Linked DNA regions of Homo sapiens: regions 1 and 3 are each linked to region 2. The links are contacts of gene promoters, found by promoter capture Hi-C in blood cells and fetal thymus (Javierre and others, 2016). All regions are on one chromosome and are shown on one strand. The core of a region is centred on a gene start or on the middle of the fragment in contact, and the rest is flanking DNA. Distances in the headings are between cores, read along the strand shown.

What was found. The method cuts DNA at HindIII sites, captures the fragments that hold promoters and counts their contacts. A CHiCAGO score of 5 or more calls a contact.
Region 1: a fragment that was not itself captured here is called in contact with the fragment with the promoter of NDN in region 2 in 1 of 17 cell types (M0 macrophages); the score reaches 5.7 in M0 macrophages.
Region 3: a contact is called between a fragment that was not itself captured here and the fragment with the promoter of NDN in region 2, in 1 of 17 cell types (erythroblasts). The highest score is 5.4, in erythroblasts.

The regions. Positions count from the first base shown.
Region 1 is chr15:24,777,550-24,780,540 of GRCh38, reverse strand. No RefSeq gene overlaps it. Among named protein-coding and RNA genes, the nearest start is that of SNHG14, 45 kb to the left of the region's middle. The HindIII fragment of the contact is 1,825 bases long and covers 602-2,426 here.
Region 2 is chr15:23,685,748-23,688,614 of GRCh38, reverse strand. It overlaps NDN (necdin, MAGE family member), which reads left to right and starts at 1,310. Exons shown (of 1, transcript NM_002487.3): 1 at 1,310-2,867. The coding sequence starts at 1,398. The coding sequence ends at 2,363. The HindIII fragment of the contact is 2,633 bases long and covers 1-2,579 here.
Region 3 is chr15:24,923,395-24,926,510 of GRCh38, reverse strand. The region is part of intron 4 of SNHG14 (small nucleolar RNA host gene 14); the gene reads right to left. It also overlaps a transcript of SNRPN not described here. Among named protein-coding and RNA genes, the nearest start is that of SNRPN, 30 kb to the left of the region's middle. The HindIII fragment of the contact is 1,051 bases long and covers 1,220-2,270 here.

The DNA.
Region 1 (2,991 bases), core at 265-2,764, 1.1 Mb before region 2:
CACCTGTAGTTCTGGTACTTTGGGAGGCTAAGGCAGGAGGATCGCTTGAGGCCAGGAATTCAAGAAAAGCCTGGGCAACCTGGTGAGACCTTGTCTCTACAAAAAAATTCAAAAAATTAGCTACGCTTAGTGGCATGCACCTGTAGCCCCACCTACTCAGGAGGCTGAGGCAGGGGAATCACTTGAGCCTGAGAGCAGGAGCCTGGAGTGAGCGATGACCAGCAATTCTGTTTCTATATACTAGCAATTAATCTAAAAATGAAAGTCAGAGGCTGGTCGGGGTGGCCCACACCTGTAATCACAGCACTTTGGGAGGCTAATTCGGGCAGATTGTTTGAGGTCTGGAGTTCGGCACCAGCCTGGCCAATATGGTGAAACCTTGTTTCTACTAAAAATACAAAACTTAGCTGGGCATGGTGGCAGGCGCCTATAATCCCAGCTCTTCGGGAGGCTGAGGCAGTAGAATCAGTTGAACCTGGGAGACGGAGGTTGCAGTGAGCCGAGATTACACCATTGCACTCCAGTCTGGGTGACAAGAGTGAGACTTCATCTCAAAAAAAAAAATAATGAAAGTCAGAAAACTGTTCCTATGTAAAAAGCTTCAAAGTGGAGATATACTTAGGAATAATTTAATGAAATCTGTGTAAAATATGTACATTGAAAACTATAAAATGTATTGAAAGATACTGAAGATGTCCTAAAAAATGTAAAAATAAAAATCCCATGATCAATGATTAGAAAACTTAATACTGTGATGATGACAATACTTCCCAAATGGATTTATGGATTTAATACAATCCATAGTAAAATACTGCTTCTTTAAAAAATGCAGTTATTGGCAAGCTACTTCTAAATTTCATATGAAAATGCAATTGCTCCGGAATAGCCAAAACTAACCCAAAAGAATACAGTTGGAGTACTTGACTCATAGTTCTTGACTTCAAAACTTATTACAAACTGATAGTAATCAAGACATTGTGGTACTGGTATAAGTTTAGCCATATGTGTTATTGGATAGAACTGAGGGTCCACAAAATTACCTTTATATTTATGGTTTAAATGATTTTAAAGATTGTGAAAGCATATCAATATGGAAAAATGTTTCTTCCAATAAACGTTGCTGGCAGAAGTGGATATCCACTTGCAGGCTGGATTCCTCCCTCACATCATATAAACAATTGGCTTAAAGTGGATCATAGGCCTAAATGTAAGAGTTAAAATGACAAAATCTATGAAAGTGAATGTATGAATTAGTCTTCACAGCCTTAGGTTAAACAATAGAGTCTAAGATATTTCATCAAAATACAAGTAACAAGCAAAAAAAAAAAAAAACAAAACCCATACATTGAACATCATCAAAACTTAAAACTTTCATTATTCAAAGTACACAATCGAGATAACCCAAACAATGGGAAAAAATGTTTGCAAATCATACACTTGATAGGGGTCTATTAGCCACAATATGTAAAATGCTCTTACAACTAAAAAATAAAAAGAAAAATATCCTAATAAATAAGGGGCAAAATTTTTGTGTGACTAGACATCTTCCCAAAGAAGTTATACAAATGTACAATGCTCAACAAATTTAGTCCTTAGTAAAACACAGATCAAATTCATTGTGTGATACACTTCACTGCTTCACTAATCTTAAAGGCATATTTATAAGAAAATGAAGGTAGTTTGCATCACTATGTACTGTTCAATATAATTTATATGACATTGCGGAAAGTTGAAATTATACTAAAATGATTAGAGGCTACTAGGAACTTGTGAGAGGAAGGTTGGAAAGGAAAATTACAGATTTCTTTCCAGCAGTGAAATTTTTCTCTATGCTACGAAAATGGTCAGTTAATGCTACTATTTGTAAAATTCTACAGAACTTTATATCACAAAGAGTGAATAAAAATGTATACAAATTAAAACATTATTGAAAGGGGCCATTCCATTGAGAAACACAGGTAAAATAATATACTTACACATTTTAATTTATAAAGTCCTTTCCTATGGGAGTATGAATGACCAACTCTGATACCAGTCTGCATATATTTTGGGACTCAACGTTTTCATAAAGGGGGCCAGTTTTCTCATTGTTAGAATGAGAGGTTATATGCAAGTAGTAAAAATAAGTAGATTCATTCATGTGGTACTGGATTAGAATTGGAGACATTAGTGGGAATACAGGTTTAAATTTATATAGATATACATAGACAAATGTAGATATATTTTTACATATGTGTTTTTGTGGAGTTAATATGCAGATATATTCCTGTCAGCTGGCAAAGCCCAGAATCAACAGATCACCTAGTAGCAATGAGTGCACCCACTGCCCAGATCATTGTTTCTAATACTAGACACCAATAAAAATAAAAACTCCTTGAAGAAATTACGAACATTAGGCTTGGGTAGGGAATCAAAACAATTAAGCTTGAACACTTTATAGTGCCAGAAAGTAATAAAATGCTAAACAATAACACAACCAACAAAGCAGTCAAACAAACAAACAAACAAACAAAAAACAAAATCAAACTGCAACAACGTAGATATATCAAAATGGTATAGGAATCATCTGAAAGACCTTACATGGCAAACTCTAAAACAATTTGAGGAACAAAATCAATAAACTAGTAATTATAGTGTGAAGTAAATATTTGTGATTTCATATATTTTATATGATATATTAAATGATGAATATAAATAATGCATGGAGCAGAATAGAGAAATTGTCCATGGTAAAGAAACATAAATGGCATTGTAGAAGCTCTGCCTAGCAGGAGGTGGAGCATGTTTTTCCAATTCTTAAATATGTGCTGGGCACAGTGACTTCTTTTTAAAAAGGTCAACATGGAAAGGGGAACAAAAATTACCTTACAATATAAAGAACTAAGATTCTTTGAAGAAATGGTGATCCCTGACCTAAATTATCTCATGGAAATTATCAAGTTAATGTCAACAGTAATAAGCATGTTGATAGTGTGTACCCTTGATATGATG
Region 2 (2,867 bases), core at 61-2,560:
TGCGTGCAAACCCAAAGAGAGAAAGCACAGAAAACCTTTCAACATCAACCTGCTTGAGGAAAAATAAAGTGGGAAAAGATACATACTCACAGTGAGGACTCTAGACATGTCAAGACAATTTTTAAATATGCTTTTGGCTTCGAGTGGCAATAACTAGATTCAAGACAGCATATTTAAGAAGCTGCTGATGAGAAGAAACCCGGGAAGAGCTGAAGGACCACATCAGCCCAGACCAAGGATGCTGAAGCAGCATTAAGGTCCCTGGTTTCAGATGCTCAGGCAATGACCCTTTTTTTCATGGAGAGCCTGTAGGAGTGACAGTTTTGTCTTTGCCCACTGGGAATCTGTTTTCCATACCTGGAAAACAGGGTTACCTATGTTTCCCCTGCTACCCTTTGGTCATCTCAGAGACACTACCAGATATTACCCATGGGACCTATTTTTTTTTTAAATCTCAGGAAAGACTTGGGTGTGGCTTCCAACGTGGAGGACTCAGTAGCTTCAGAGAGGGTCCTGAGAGAAGGTGAATTGAAGAATGAGGGTGCTGGGCAGAGGGAAAAGACATTATCATACAAGTTTGTGCTAAAAGATATAGCAATCCTTCTGCTATGGACTAAGTATGGAAAAAAATAAAATGGAATCAAAGTTACCCAAAGGAAGTGTAAAACCCAAATTTATGCCCGTTAAAGCATTAATGATGCTCTAAGTCCACTGCCTACTTAAAAAGTTCATAGTTCACATGGGTTGATAGGAAATTACGTTAACGACACACTGCATTTCCCCTTTTCTTATAGCCTATCTGATTTGGTAGGGAGTCGATCATTTTTTATTGGAATTTCTCAGGATTCCAACCTCAGACATCCACTTTACAGTTTACACATTTTCTTGGACAAGCCCGACTGTTCCTCTCACTGGTTCGCATAAAGCTCATGTTTACAAAGCCGCCCAGACCTTTCTCTGGGACTCTCATATTTAACTTAATTCTGGATATACCCAGGTAAGCGTTTCCCAAGAAACTTGACCCCAACATCCCAAAAACTTAAGGTATCTTTCCCTTAAACTGGCCCCTTCTCCAGTACGCATCCATCTCACTTCTCTCCTGCCCTAGATCTTCTCAGCCCAAACAGGAAACCCCGGGATCGCTCTCCCAGCAGGTGAAGCCTCGCCATGGACCCTCCCCGTCGGGGCCCCGCGCTGCCCCGCCCGCCCCCAGCCGCTGGCCAAGGCCGCGGTCGCGCAGGCGCAGTGCCGCGTCCCGCCGCCGCCCCGCCCTGCCCGTCGCTGCGGAAGGCGCCGCGCGCAGCAACGCGCACTTCCTCTCCAGGAATCCGCGGAGGGAGCGCAGGCTCGAAGAGCTCCTGGACGCAGAGGCCCTGCCCTTGCCAGACGGCGCAGACATGTCAGAACAAAGTAAGGATCTGAGCGACCCTAACTTTGCAGCCGAGGCCCCCAACTCCGAGGTGCACAGCAGCCCTGGGGTTTCGGAGGGGGTTCCTCCGTCCGCGACCCTGGCAGAGCCGCAGAGCCCTCCTCTAGGCCCGACGGCCGCTCCGCAGGCCGCGCCGCCTCCCCAGGCCCCGAACGACGAGGGCGACCCGAAGGCCCTGCAGCAGGCTGCGGAGGAGGGCCGCGCCCACCAGGCCCCGAGCGCGGCCCAGCCGGGCCCGGCACCGCCAGCCCCGGCGCAGCTGGTGCAGAAGGCGCACGAGCTCATGTGGTACGTGCTGGTCAAGGACCAGAAGAAGATGATCATCTGGTTTCCAGACATGGTGAAAGATGTCATCGGCAGCTACAAGAAGTGGTGCAGGAGCATCCTCCGGCGCACCAGCCTCATCCTCGCCCGGGTGTTCGGGCTGCACCTGAGGCTAACCAGCCTGCACACCATGGAGTTTGCGCTGGTCAAAGCGCTGGAGCCCGAGGAGCTGGACAGGGTGGCGCTGAGCAACCGCATGCCCATGACAGGCCTCCTGCTCATGATCCTGAGCCTCATCTACGTGAAGGGCCGCGGCGCCAGAGAGAGCGCCGTCTGGAACGTGCTGCGCATCCTGGGGCTGCGGCCCTGGAAGAAGCACTCCACCTTCGGGGACGTGCGGAAGCTCATCACTGAGGAGTTCGTCCAAATGAATTACCTGAAGTACCAGCGCGTCCCATACGTGGAGCCGCCCGAATACGAGTTCTTTTGGGGCTCCCGGGCCAGCCGCGAAATCACCAAGATGCAAATCATGGAGTTCCTGGCCAGGGTCTTTAAGAAAGACCCCCAGGCCTGGCCCTCCCGATACAGAGAAGCTCTGGAGGAGGCCAGAGCTCTGCGGGAGGCTAATCCCACTGCCCACTACCCTCGCAGCAGTGTCTCTGAGGACTAGCAAAGTCTGGAGGCAGATGAATGGTTTCTGACCCTCACCAGGGCTGTGGAAGGGTGGGGGTGGGTCATTATAGTATTCAGGATTTACAGTGCAGTATTCACGTGTAACTTTTAAGTTTTCAGTACAGTGCTTTTATACCTTTAATGCAATGTTGTATTCATTTGGGTACTATTGTGTAGTATTTAGGATGTATGCATGTTTGTTTATATGTAAGCTTGGTTGGTGCTTTCGCTTTTGTGCTACCTTTCTTGGATTTTTGTACCAGAGATGTGCTAAACTGATGAAATACATTGAGAAAGTTTCCATCTTATTCTTTTATATGGGACTGATGATGTGTGTTGGGGTAGACTGCTCCTGCAGAGTTTGGAAGAAGTCACCAGCAAAGCCGGCCTAACCAAGAAAAGTCAAGGCCCTTCATGACCTTGCTGGGCACAGAAAACACCCTCGTGGAGTACACTAATTTGAACTGGACTGGTCTCAGTGTGAGCACTTGGCACACTTTAC
Region 3 (3,116 bases), core at 496-2,995, 1.2 Mb before region 2:
AAGAAGCAGGGATACAAGCAGAATGTCTGCATAATTTATCATTCAAACTAGCACACTTCTGAGAGAAAGCAGGATTATTCATAATCATGTCAGGACAATAATTTATGTGTGCATCTGTGCCAGGCAAAAGGGGATATATTGTCATTACGGGTGGAAAGAGATGACTTCTTACTGTATGCCTTTCGTATATTTTGATTTTTAACTATGTAAACATATTATTCAAATATATAAATAAAAATTTACATATATAATTTAAAAAGGAATCACCTACTCAATATAATAAAAGTTGGAAAATTATTAAAATATCCTTACAATAGAATCTAAAGTAGCTATTTAAAGAATGAGGGGCCTGGCACAGTGGCTCATGCCTGCAATCTCAGCACTTTGGACAGAAGGACTGCTTGATGCCAGGAGTTTGAAACTAGATTGGTTAACATAGTTAGATCCCATCTCTACAAAAAGATTTAAAAATTAGTGGGCCGGGCACGGTGGCTCAGGCCTGTAATCCCAGCACTTTGGGAGGCCGAGGCGGGCGGATCACAAGGTCAGGAGATCGAGACCATCCTGCCTAACACAGTGAAACTCCATTTCTACTAAAAATTCAAAAAATTAGCCGGGTGTGGTTGCGGGCGCTACCGCTACTCGGGAGGCTGAGGCCAGAGAATGGCGTGAACCTGGGAGGCAGAGCTTGCAGTGAGCCGAGATCGCGCCACTGCACTCCAGCCTGGGCAAGAGTGCGAGACTCTGTCTCAAAAAAAAAAAAAATTAGCTGGGCATGGTGGTATGCACCTATGGTCCCAGCCACTGGGGAGGCTGAGATGGGAGGATCGCTTGGAGATTGAGGCTGTAGTGATCGCACAACTGCACAACAGAGTGAGATCCTGTCTTTTAATTAAACAACAACAATAATAAATTTATAAAAAAGAAAAGGAGGACTCTATAAAAGCAGTTTTGAAAGCTTCATGGAGTAAGACACAGCAGAAATGAGAGCAGAGGAACTGGGGTGTGGAGCCAGGGAAGTGTTGGGGAGTGGTAGGGGGACGCAATCATACATTTTTCTTTTTGTAGAGATGGGGTCTTGCTTTGTTACCCAGGCTGGTCTCGAACTCCTGGCCTTGAGCGATCTTCCCATCTCAGCCTCCCAAAGTGCTGTACAAGTGTGAGCCACCATGCCTGGCCACAATCCTACTTTTGAGAATCAAAGAATTAAAAAAAAGCTTATAGCTTATTTTCCTATGATTGACATAAAACACCGGAAATGTCCTTTCTTCCAGGGGCCCTTTATAAGCTAGTAAGCAACATATATACTATGGATTTGGAGGCATCAATATTTTTCTTAAAAGAGGTTGAAATTTAGCTTTTCCTGACTCAACCCTGAATAACTTCAGTACAGCCTTCATACACAATTCTATTTAAGTCAATAGATAAAATAATCATATGATTGTGTACTTACTGTGTTCATAGTCCAATAGAGAGTTTATACTAGCTAATAGAATTTGGAGTTAAGTAGATGGAAAAATCACCACAGCTGAATCAGAGGCCAAACCTTCTGTCAGACATGCAGACATTTATCATCCCAGTTTTCACGTGGCTGGGTGTAAGGTTCTATTCTGCCAAGCATAAGCTCAACAAGACCTGGCTGTGGACAAGGGTATTCTTTTCTTTCTTCCTGCCTGCACATTTCCCAAGAGGGCTGAAGGAGTTCAGGAAATGCCACCCCTAGCCTGGGCATGGTAACTCATGCCTGTAATCCCAGCTGTTTGGGAGACAGAGATAGGAGGATCACTTGAGGTCAGGAATTGGAGACCAGCCTAGGCAACATGGTGAGACTCTGTCTCTGCAAGAAATAAAAAAAAAAAAAGTAGCCGGGCATGATGGTGCATGCCTCTGGTCCTAGCTACTTGAGAGACTGAGGCGGGAGGATCTCCACCCCAAAATATGATGCTTTGGTGTGCTGATTACTTTCAACTGAGGTTATGTGGGGAGCAGCTCATACAGGCAGAGGTTTTCTCTGAGCTTCCTTATCTAAAGACAGATTATCTAAAAGGAACTTAATTGTCATGAATCCCCTCCCCAGGAAACTCACTAACCAGGGAAGATTGGCTCCTATCACAGGAGAGGAGAGTAGACCTTGATAACACACGCAGACTTTGTCACCGGCTGTTACCTGTTCTTCTGACAGTCCATTTATCTTTCCCCCAAACTGTTTACTCTCCCCTAAGTTACCTAATCACCTATACCCTCTGTCCTAAGAAGAGGGTACATAAGCTTCTGAATCTCACTGGGTTCTGGGATATTCGCTTTTCTTTCATGTGATGTCCCTGTGTCCATATCTAATTTGTATACCTTTTCTCCCATTAATCTGACTACTGTCAATTTCTTTCAAGGACTCAATTATTGAATTCTCAGAAAGTAGAGGAAAGGTCTTCCCTCCTGTACAGGAGGAAAGACTCCTGAGTTCAGGAGCTTGAGATCAGCCAGAGCTACATGCTGAAACCTCATTTCTACTAAACTACAAAAAGCCAGGCATCCAGCCTGGGTGACAGAGTGAGACTCCATCTCAAAAAAAAAAAAAAAAAAAAAAAAATGTTTATATACACACACACACACACACACACACACACACACATACACGGCACTAAAAAGAAACAAATCCTAAATTTATCACAGTGAACTCCAGCAACTGAGAAGACCCAAGTGAGCCCTTCCCAAAACAGCCTCTCTCCTGTCACAGGTAACCACCATCCTGACTTGTCATACTGACTTCTGAATGTTACAGAGATGGGCTCAGACAAGTATGTTTTTGCCTAGATTATTTTGCTCAACTTTGTGTTTATAAAATTCATCAAGGTTTTTACATGTAGATACAGTTCATTATTTTTTATTTATAGTTGAATTCCATTGAATTCCTATACCACCATTTACTTACCCACTCTGCTTTATTTCCAGTTTTGGCTATTACAAATAATGCTGCTATAAACATTTAAATACATGTCTTTTCATCAACTGTGCATGTACTTTTCCGTGGCCTACTCCACACAGTAGAATGGATGGTGCGTGTGTAAGGTACACATGGTTTTGTAGGTAATAGCAGGTAGTTTACCAAAGTGGTTGTT